Linked DNA regions of Homo sapiens: all the other regions are linked to region 4. Evidence: promoter capture Hi-C in 16 types of primary human blood cells and fetal thymus (Javierre and others, 2016). All regions are on one chromosome and are shown on one strand. The core of a region is centred on a gene start or on the middle of the fragment in contact, and the rest is flanking DNA. Distances in the headings are between cores, read along the strand shown.

What was found. Contacts are between HindIII fragments. The CHiCAGO score rates a contact against its expected background, and 5 or more counts as called.
Region 1: a contact is called between the fragment with the promoter of LMOD2 here and the fragment with the promoter of POT1 in region 4, in 1 of 17 cell types (total B cells). The highest score is 6.4, in total B cells.
Region 2: a fragment that was not itself captured here is called in contact with the fragment with the promoter of POT1 in region 4 in 1 of 17 cell types (total CD8 T cells); the score reaches 6.0 in total CD8 T cells.
Region 3: a fragment that was not itself captured here is called in contact with the fragment with the promoter of POT1 in region 4 in 1 of 17 cell types (non-activated CD4 T cells); the score reaches 6.1 in non-activated CD4 T cells.

The regions. Positions count from the first base shown.
Region 1 is chr7:123,654,464-123,657,163 of GRCh38, reverse strand. It overlaps LMOD2 (leiomodin 2), which reads right to left and starts at 1,298. Exons shown (of 3, transcript NM_207163.3): 1 at 928-1,298. The coding sequence starts at 1,200. The HindIII fragment of the contact is 9,966 bases long and covers 1-2,700 here.
Region 2 is chr7:123,719,751-123,722,450 of GRCh38, reverse strand. The region is part of intron 1 of WASL (WASP like actin nucleation promoting factor); the gene reads left to right. Among named protein-coding and RNA genes, the nearest start is that of WASL, 28 kb to the left of the region's middle. The HindIII fragment of the contact is 5,627 bases long and covers 1-2,700 here.
Region 3 is chr7:123,759,640-123,762,339 of GRCh38, reverse strand. No RefSeq gene overlaps it. Among named protein-coding and RNA genes, the nearest start is that of WASL-DT, 12 kb to the right of the region's middle. The HindIII fragment of the contact is 5,775 bases long and covers 1-2,700 here.
Region 4 is chr7:124,928,494-124,931,193 of GRCh38, reverse strand. POT1 (protection of telomeres 1) reads left to right here and starts at 1,369. Exons shown (of 19, transcript NM_015450.3): 1 at 1,369-1,400; 2 at 2,195-2,379. It overlaps POT1-AS1 (POT1 antisense RNA 1), which reads right to left and starts at 1,321. Exons shown (of 8, transcript NR_125719.1): 1 at 1,178-1,321. RefSeq lists enhancers at 1,085-1,379, 1,134-1,433. The HindIII fragment of the contact is 3,988 bases long and covers 1,081-2,700 here.

The DNA.
Region 1 (2,700 bases), core at 49-2,548, 1.3 Mb after region 4:
CATTTGGCAAATTCAAAATAACTGTTTACTGGGCAGTACACAAGAGCTTTATAGGCCTGAGCTCTGATATAAGCACATTTCCTAACCTCAGGATCACCATCGTAAAGGAGACAGAAATCGAAGAGATCATCTATACAGCTGTGCTGCCCCTGAGTCCTCAGATGGGTTTCAGGATGTGTTATCATTTTGAAATTCTATGCAAAAGTTGGTGTATTTTGCACAAGCCCAGGGCTATTTTCTTAAGAAGGTTCATAACTTATCAAAATCTCAAAGGGGTTCTTGATTCGCAAAAGAAACACTGTCTCTAACTCCCTCAATGTCCAGAGGGAAAGAGAACCCTGTAAAAGTGATTGTTCAAGGTCTAAAGATGTGGGAACAGAGCAGGGACTCATAACAAGGCCCTGTGACTCTCAGTGTCATGTACTTCCCACCACCCCACACTTCTTGGTATTGGAAAAGAACTATTTCACCATAGCTACTATCACAGTCAAAGCAACCAGCGTTCCCACTTTTGTCTTTATAGGAGAAAATAAATGTACTTAACTGAAAAAAAAGTATACATTTATACGTATGCATGTATCTTGGGAACAAATATTATGCCACATTACCAACATATAGCTCAAACAACACTTATGTTTGGCAAAATATTGAATCCCATACACTGATTGTGAATTATTTTCCTCTTGAGCTTTCTATTTGTAATCAATCAAAGAGCCCCAATTAAGAATTTTACATATTATGATCCATTGGGTGGCCATAGCATTTACATGATTATTTCAGCCTGAAAAATGATTTAGTAGCAAGTATAAATGGGTTATAGGAAAATTCAAGTGATGAGGATTGAGAAGTTAGGGAAAACAAGTGTCTGGGTTTGGGATGGGGTGATGGGGAGGTGGGGTTAGCCAAGGAAAAGTCCCGAGAGCCTACCTTTCCACATTCCCCCAGCCTCTCCTTCTCCAAGAGTTTTTGGGACTCCTTTTCCCAATAGGCCATCAGTGCCTCTCTGCTGAATGTCCCTGTGGGGGTTTTCTCTGTCAGGCTCTTTTGCCTTAGCCCCACGGGAAGGTTGCGGTCAGGTTCAATGTCTTCCAACTCTCTCTCTAGCTCCTTCAGCTCCTCGGCTGACAGGGAGGCGAGGAGTTCATCCTCGTCGATGGATTCGTATTTACTGAGTCCTCTTCGGTAGCCAAAGGTAGACATGGTCCCTGCTTTGTCAGACCCAGAAGGAGCTTGAAGGACCAGGCATTCAAGGCGGCCAGAAGCAGGCAGGGAGGCAAGTGGCAGGCTGGTCAACAACTGGTGCTAGGAGTGGCTGTGGGAGCCTTTTAAGAGTGGTGATACAGGGCTGTGACAATGCAGAGAGGGGTGAAGGCATGGGCTGTTTTAAGCATCAGACGTCAGCTAGACATTTGAACACAAAGAATGTCACATCGGTGGTGGATGGAGGTCTCAGAACCAGTGGGGATTATTAACATACTGGCCAGGGCCATATTTAGCTGAGTCTGATAGCTCATGAGGACAGGCAGAGTGTTTCAGATAAGGAGTAACACAGTTCTTCTCACTTTGTATTCAAACAACAGGGAAATAAAATTTATTTTGAAAATGACTTGCCACCACCTCCATGGCCATGAAAAGATTCTTTCATTATAATCTTAGGGTTGAGAAATGTCTCCACAATACTCCATGGGTAGTTATTTTGGTTCTTCTATAAACATACTGTAGGTGGTATTGATGGGGACAAAAGGTCATAATAATATAGTATTTCATAATTTTATCCTACTTTGCAGTTTACAAAGCACTTCAATAAGTTTTTCTAATCATAAATACTGTGAGATGAATAACATGATTCTCATTTATAGATGTTGGCAACTGAGGCTCTCAGAGATTAAGTGAAACGTCAGAAGTTGGAGAGCTGAAAGTACAGAGAGGTGTCTTTCTCCACTGAACGAAATGCTTCTTCCTACTCACCATGATTACTAGTAAAAATCTAGACTTGCAAATGAAACTCGAAAAATACAAATAATAATACTGGATATGATTTATTAAGGACTGACATTATGCCATTCCAGTGTTAAGCATTATCTCCTTTAATTCTACAGTCCTGTAAGGTGTACATTAGTGCCTGTACTTAACTAGTACACACTCAGAGAGGTTAAGTTACTAGCATGGGAGCACAGAGCTAAGAAGTGAGAGAGCTAGAATCTGAGCCCAGATTTGTATCTGGCCTGAAAATGGAAGAGATGCTAATTTGAAATTATATATATGACTTAATCACTACATATTATATATATACAACAAATTTTCTTATGTACTCCATACATTTGCACAAATTAAAAAAAGAAATTATATATGAGCATATTGTTGTGTATATGTTAAAATAAATCCATAGTTTATAGGACTCCATAAATATAACACCATTTTATAGATATGTAAAATCTATTAAAAATATTAATGCATACAAAAATACATTTATCAATACATGTATAGTACATGATATTCTGATTATACCTTCAGCAGCTGGTGAATATTTGGGTTGTTTCTAGCTTTGGGTTTCTACCTTTTATCTATGAATAAAGTTTCTATGAACATTTACATGCAAGTGTTTGAGTAACCTCAGGTTTTCATTTATTTTGAGTAGATATGTAGGAGCAGAATTACTGGGTTATATGGTAAATTTACTTTTTAAGAAACTGTAAAAAA
Region 2 (2,700 bases), core at 125-2,624, 1.2 Mb after region 4:
AAGATAATAAATAATTGTTAATTGAATTAATACCCTGTTCAGATTTAGTCTCTAGGTTAGCCAGACATTTTGTGAATAAATACGATTCTTTAAATTATTTTTATTAGGAACATTCCTTTGTGTAGTTATCCCAACTTTGACCTTCTGTTGACCTTATAAATTCCATATCTTGTTCTAATAAATTATTTGCATGAGATTATCCCTAGGACTTTCCAGAGCATTATTGTCCAATAGAACTTTTTATGATGCTGTCCAATATGGTAGACATCTGTGATTATTGCGCACTTGAAATGTAGCAGGTGTGACTTTGAGAGACAACATTTTTAACATATTTGAATAGCCATTGTGGCTAGTGGTGACCTTATTAAACAGTACAGCTCCAGAGAGCAAAAGCAAGATGAGTCCAGAAACTAACAGTACCCTCCCGCCTGCCCCTGCCCCCACCCCCAAAGCCACCCAGCTTTGGAGCTTACCTAGAGAGGACAGTAACAGTGTAAAAGATCTGTGTGGACTCAAAGTGAAATCATTCCCAATTAATTTATACATTCTAAAAAATAGAGAACATTTATTAAATCTCAATCGCAGCTCACTGCAGCCTCTGTCTCCTGGGTTCAAGCATTTCTCTTGCCTCAGCCTCCTGAGTAGCTGGGACTGGGACTACAGGCGCCCGCCACCACGCCTGACCAAATTTTGTGTTTTTAGTAGCGACAGGGTTTCATCATGTTGGACATGCTGGTCCTCAGGTGATCCACTCTCCTTGGCCTCCCAAAGTGCTGAAATTACAGATGTGAGCCACCACACCCAGCCTTAAGTCTCTTAAATTGTGAATAAAATGTAAATCTTAAAAACAAAACTTGAGAAAGGTTCTTGGATTCTTTGGTGGGGTTTTTTGTTGTTGTTGTTCGTTTGTTTGTTTTTTGGGGTGGATGCTATCTAGCTCTTGTGTGTAATGTACATGAGAGTCTCAAATGTTGTACTTTAAGTCCTTAGGTTGTATGTTGAATTTAAACTGTTACTTGTTACAAAGCCCTTACCTTTACCTTATGCCTTCAAAAGCTCATATTTAAATAAAATGGCTCTCAAAGTAACCTACCTTTTGCACGTTTTTTGCCCACCTTGATTGTACATGTCAGTCAAGCAAACTAAAAGTGCTTATTTATATAAAGTATATGTACATCCCTGTGACTGTCCTTAAATGCTTATTAGATCATTGAATTGCTGAATATAGAATAACAAATATGGAAGACAAAAAATTTTAATTTGCTTATTTTTATTAATCATGTTTAAGAGTTTGAAAGACTGCAAGAGTAAGTTTGTAAAAGAAATCAAAGACTTTGTTGTTCATTATAGACTGGCTATCTCCCTATAGTAGCCAGAGTTTGCTTTTTATTAGTTTAAGCCCCTAGGCACTGTAGTATGTTATTCAGCAATGTTTATTTTTAATTTTTTAGGGGGAAGCTAAAGAGCTACTCAAAATTCTTGCTAGGTTACTGTTTCTAGGTCAGAAAGGTTATTTTTGTTTGTTTGTTTCAGACTTGCACCATAATGTGATTTGAGTAGGTCTTTTTTTTTTAACGTGTATATATTTTAAATCAATTTTTAATTTTTGGAAAGCCAATACATCCACATGGTTTAAAAATCCCACAGTGTGCAGGCACCTGTAGTCCCAGCTACCAGGAGGCTGAGGCAGGAGAATGGCATGAACCCAGGAGGCGGAGCTTGCAGTGAGCCAAGATTGTGCCACTGTACTCCAGCCTGGGCGAGAGAATGAGACTCCATCTCAAAAAAAAAAAAAAAAAATCCCACAGTGTGAAAAGAAAGTGATGTTTCTCATTTATCCAGTCCTTCATTTGCCTAGTCATTTCTTCTCCAACAAAATACCTGTCCACACACAGAACCTTTAAACAACTGTTACTAGTTTTGTCTGTTCTTCAGAAGGTTCTGTGCATACATAGGCAAATGTAAGTTATTTATTCTTGTTTGTGGTATTGTGTACAGACGTTAGTATATGCTACCCTTACTTTTACATCTTGCCTTTTATTCAGATAACAGTGTATCTTGTTCATCTTATCATTACTTGAATAACAACTTTTTTTTTTTTTTTTTGCAGCTGTATGGTATCCTATTTGTATAGCTGAACTGTGCTTTATTTAATGAGTGTGTATTTTTCTTGATGACCAAAATATTCGAGTAATTTTGGATAATTTTAAGATTCTGAAGATTTGAATTAATGATTTAAATAATGGTTTTGATAGAAGTCATTGTAAAGTGTGTTACCCCTTTACCCTGGTTTAGTTAAATAGATCAAACACGTTACTGAACTGATTTTAATTCTTATATGATAAACTGGTTGTTGGGAAACAGGTTTGGGGGTAACCATATATTTTGTGCTAGGTGAGTATAGAAATAAGACAGGGCCCTATCTTCAAGGAGTTGACAGTCTGCTGAGAAGACCTAAGTGAACAGATTATAATACAGTAACTGGTATAATGAAGGTTCCTAGGCACTATGGGAACTCAATGGATAGGCCTTTGTCACAGACTGAGGGAAAGGTGGGTTGGGAGGTTCCTGTCACAGGTGAGCAGTGACTAGTGACTATCTGGCTGGTGGCTTGGGTGGTAAAAAGAATTTACCAAGACAGTTGTAACTACAGAAAGGCAGATTTCTTAGAGACAGTATGAAAATATGTTGCAAGGGTGC
Region 3 (2,700 bases), core at 13-2,512, 1.2 Mb after region 4:
TTTAAGAACTGTAACACTCACCGCGAGGGTCCGTGGCTTCATTCTTGAAGTCAGTGAGACCAAGAACCCACCAATTCCAGACACAATATTGCAAACAATGAGGAGCCTCTGAAGAATTTTTAGGAGAGAAAGTAACATGATCAGATTCTCACTTGCATGCTGGCAATGATGTGCTGGGTGAATTGTGAGAATAAAACTGGCGAGAGAAGTGAGGTAGTGAAGGATGCTTGATTTAGGGCACAGGCAGAAGAGATGAAAAGGAAGTGGTGGTGGAGGGATAATAGGAGATAAAATTGACGGGAGGTGGTGACTGAAGATTAGAGGGCAGGAACAATGTGAGCAATAGGAGGACAAGATGGTTTTTGAGGTTTCTAATTGGAAAAGAGAGTGTGGTGGTATTAAACACTGAGATAGGAAACACAGAAAAGATTTTAAACAAAGATCGTGAGTACAGATGTGTACACAATGACTTTGAGGAACTTATCAGTTGTAGCTATAGTCCAGACCTCAGAAGAGAGGTTTGGAGAAATACCTGGGAATCACAAAGAGGGCAATAAAAGCTGTCGACATTAATAGTGTCACTGTTAAGAACACAGGCTCTGCTGTCAAAAGACTCAGATTGGAGTTGCCTCTCTCATTGACCTTGTGCAAGTTTTCTAAATCTGAAACGTGCTGTTAATAATATCTCTTATAAACCACTAAAGAATTAAATGGAAACGTATCTAAAGCATTCAACATGGTGTCAGGCATGTCGTAAGTGCTCGGTAATGCTACCTTATATTATTCTGATGAATCGGATTAGAAAGTTAAAATTCACCTGTCTGGGTGCGGTGGCTCACACCTGTAATCCCAGTACTTCAGGAGGCCGAGGCAGGCAGATCACGAGGTCAGGAGACTGAGACCATCCTGGCTAACATGGTGAAACCCCATCTCCAGTAAAAATACAAAAAAGTAGCCGGGTGTGGTGGTGGGTGCCTGTAGCCACAGCTACTGGGGAGGCTGAGGCAGGAGAATGGGGTAAACCCGGGAGGCGGAGCTTGCAGTGAGCCAAAATCGCGCCACTGCACTCAAGCCTGGGCAACAGAGCGAGACTCTGTCTCAAAAAAAAAAAAAAAAAAAATTAAAATTCACCTATTCACTAAATCTTCTGGGGACCCCTATTCTATTCAAGGCCAAATAAATGAGGCAAAATGATAGAACTCTGGGTGGAATTAATATTTAAGATGCAGAGCCATAGAGAATGGCAAATGAGTGATCATATAAGCAGGATAGAGACACCCTACATAGGACCGATAGACACCATATTGATTGATGGTAGAGAGCTTGCAAAGAAGAAAATGTCCAATTCACATTTAGTTATGTGACAAAAATGTCACATTAAATATTAGATGTCACCCCCAATATTAAAATATTGGGGATGGAAACAAGCTCACATTGCTTGATGAGTGAAAGAGAAAGGAAAGTAGACAATGAGTATAGATTACTGTTTTTAGAAGGTTGTCTGTGAAGAGGAAAGATACGAATTAGTAACAGTCAGGGTATTTACTTATTTAAATTGATTATTTTAATGAAAATAGTTTTTAATTTGAGAGATATCTGAACATATTTATACATTGACCAGAAAGAGCCAATGGAGAAAACAAAACGATGTATATAGGCAAGAAGGGACTCAGAATCACTGATGGAGCAAAAGGAAACAAGGAAATGTAGAGCGCAGCAAAGCAGAAGGCCTTAGGAAGAGCAAAGTGCTTCGCTCAGTGAGTACAGAGATGCCAGACCTAATGGGTGCTTGAGTTACCTTTATTGCCACTTGAAGAATTCCTAGGCTATCAAAGAATTACTGAATTCCATGTTGAGAGAGTGCTAACTACATTAGGATACAGAACACTATGACCATCTGGGAAATAACTGAAAATCAGTTCACCACTGGGAATGAACAGGAACTGGTGGCATGTGCAGCTTCAGGCACTGTGGAAAAGTTCTGGTTCAGAAGGCAGATCTTTGCATTGGGGGAGATGATGATCTTAACAGTGGTCACTATAAGGGAGCTCAACATGAAATGACAGTGTTTAGAGTCAGGGCGTGGAGGAATTGGAATTACTTGGAAATCTGGGAAATCAGCATCAGAAAAGTCCTTCAGCTGTTAGAGCTGGAAGAGGAGATCTATCCTCTTAGACCAATATTTTATAGGCACAAAAACCCTTAACAGATTATCAACAATTGGAATTAAGCAATATTTAAAAAGGGATCATATATCATGATCAACTGGGGTTTATCCCAGGAATGCAAGCCTGTTTCAACATTTTAAAATCAGTGTAATTCCAGGAACAGAAAATCAAACACCGCATGTTCTCACTCATAAGTGGGAGTTGAACAATGAGAACATATGGGCACAGGGAGGGGAACATCACACACTGGGACCTGTGGGGGGTGGTGGGGGGCAAGGGGAGGGATAGCATTAGGAGAAATACCTAATGTAGACGACGGGTTGATGGGTGCAGCAAACCACCATGGGACATGTATACCTATGTAATAAACCTGCACTTCTGCACGTGTATCCCAGAACTTAAAGTATAATAAAAATAAAAATAAAAATCAGTATAATTCACTGTATCAACAGACTAAACAGGAGACAAAATATGAGCTTATTTAACATAAACAGAAAAAGCATTTGACAAAATTTATGAGGAAAACCTCACA
Region 4 (2,700 bases), core at 120-2,619:
TAAAAAGGAGGAATAGTATTTCTCAGCCGGATGCAGCCAGAGATGGAAGGAGGATAGCATCTAAACCTTCCCTATAGTTTTCCTCAAATGGACAGCTCCTGAGTTCATGCACTTGTCACCCCGGCTTCTGCGTGGGATATAACTACAGGGATGGGGAGGGGAAACAGGAGATGGGCTAATACTGAATGCTTCCTGTTGATTAAAAAGGCACTTCAAACATAGCTGGCTGGGCACAGTGGCTCATGTCTGTAATCCCAGCACTTTGGGAGGCCAAGGTGGGCGGATCACAAGGTCAGGAGTTCGAGACCAGCCTGGCCAAAATGGGAAACCCCGTCTCTACTAAACAAATACAAAAATTAGCCAGGCATGGTGGCCTGCGCCTGTAATCCCAGCTACTAGGGAGGCTGAGGCAGAAGAATTGCTTGAACCCGGGAGGTGGGGGTTGCAGTTAGCCGAGATTGCGCCATTGCACTCCAGCCTGGTGACAGAGCGAGATTCCGTCTCAAAAAAAAAAAAAAAGTTAGCTATATCCTCCTGCAAATATGTATATAAAGAAGATATTTTAGTTCAAATTAGCCTTGGAAATATTCATGTAATTCTTTATTACATTTAGTTTCACACTAGGATGATTTCACTTAAATGATTGAAGGCATATATCTGGAATTAGCAGAGAATTCATGTTTAACAATTTATCATTATAAATGATAAATTATAATATTTATCAATTATAAGTTATAATAAATATTAAATAAACTATAATAAACCTATAAAATAAATTATAATAAATATTAATTATACCACAAAATCATGGCCCTATAAAACAATGACAAGGTTAATCAAATCTGTCTGTAAATAGCAAGACTCAATGGTGGCATTATGCCAATGCCCGAAATTACTATAAAAACTCCCAAATAACATTGTTATCCTTGTAAATGCTTCCTTGTAAAGACTGCAGTAGGTGCCTATTTCTTGGAGGAAGAGAACTGGACATTAAAAGAAAGGCTCTGCCTACAGGAGCTTCGAATCTACCAAAGGGAAGCTCAAATCCCGCCCAGCGGACCCGCCCGCTTCCCCTAAGCTTGCCTCCCGCCACGAAAGCTGGAAAGTCACTGGGGGCGGAGCTAAGGGGAGCTGCGAGAATTCCGGGGGATGTGACCGGACTGGGCGGGGCCTGTACCTTGGCCCTGCGCTCCCGTTGACGTCGCATCCTGTCAGTATTTCGCCAAACCTCCAGGCGCCATCAGTGTGTGAACCGTTACGCAGCTGGTCCACCGCGGGCGGAGAACAAGCGACTATGCCCAGGGATCCTGCACGCATGCGTGGAGCTGAACCGTCAGCGTGCGTGTGACGTCACCTGCGCGCCCGCCTAAACTCTTCCTAGGGTTCTTTCTAGAGTACGGGTGAGTGAAATTTGTAAGGTTTGGTGTGTTCATTTGAGTGGGTGCCAGACGTAACGGGCCCGGGATTGAATTAGTTTAGATCAAAATTTGATGTAATTATCGCAGAGAAACGCTTTCTTACGAGTGTTTATCTCGAGCCTGCTGTGTTCAGCATCTTTCTTGGTGTTTTGGGAGAAGCAGACAGGAGTTAAGTCCAAGTCCCCGCCCTCACAGAGCTCAGGTGGCTTGGGGGAAGGTTGGTGCGCAAACATTAAAATTAGATATCGACACTAGTGAGTGTCCCCGTCAAGAGGTCTGTGAAATAAGGTTGAGCCTACGATGCAGAAGTTAATCTCAGTTCAGTAATTTTTGTTTCTTCATTTATTTAGCGGGTGAAGGGAGGGGGCCACAGAAACATGTTGGAGTACGATGCTTTTGGTGCACAGTTTGTCTATACAATATTACAGCTCCCGTGGGGGTTAAAAAAAAACACGATTTTTCAGCCTCCCTCTTCCCCAATAAATTTTACATTTTAAAGCACAATGTTAAAAGCGTTTGTTAGTGACGTTACAGATCTTAAAACTGGCTTTTTGGAGGTACTTTACGCAGCTAAGTAGAAAATGGTTAAGTTTCAGTTCCTTGGAAGAATGTTTTGTATTGATCTTTGCAATAAAATTGTAAAATAATCCATCCTCCTGTCACCCCCCAACCCCGAACCGTGTTAACTATAATAAGGAAAAGCATAACTAAGTCAAAGAGACTTAAAGCAAATTATTGACTTCATTTTGGGTAAAACACTGGTTTTGTATTTTCAGCAGCAAGTTGTCAGATTCCCTAGTTGAATTTGCTTTGGACATCAGTGTGAAGCAGAACTGATATGCCACTTGAATTAATAAAGGAAGTCAATGGGGTGCCTGAAGTTCAGCCGCTGAGTAAATTACATAAAGTAGATTTCGGATCCCTACAGCCAGGTTACAATTATAGCAAGAAATATATTCAGGTAAGAATTTCTATAACTCAGAATGCTTTTTCCTACTAAAAGGAATGCAGTTTTTAAGTGTTGAGTTTATTTATGAGAACTGGTTTAGGTATGGTTTTTATCTTTGTCATAACATTTGAGATTGAATATTTCAATAAGTTATTCTTATTCAGTACTTATTTAGCGAACAATTATCAAATTCGTGTGTGAAACATTGGAGTAAGTTTCTGAGGTACAAAGATGAATAAATATAGTCCCGGAACTAAAGATAATCACATTTCTGTGGGGTCTGACAGATCAATCACCTGATCTCCAATTAAAATTAATAGGTGTGATATTAGC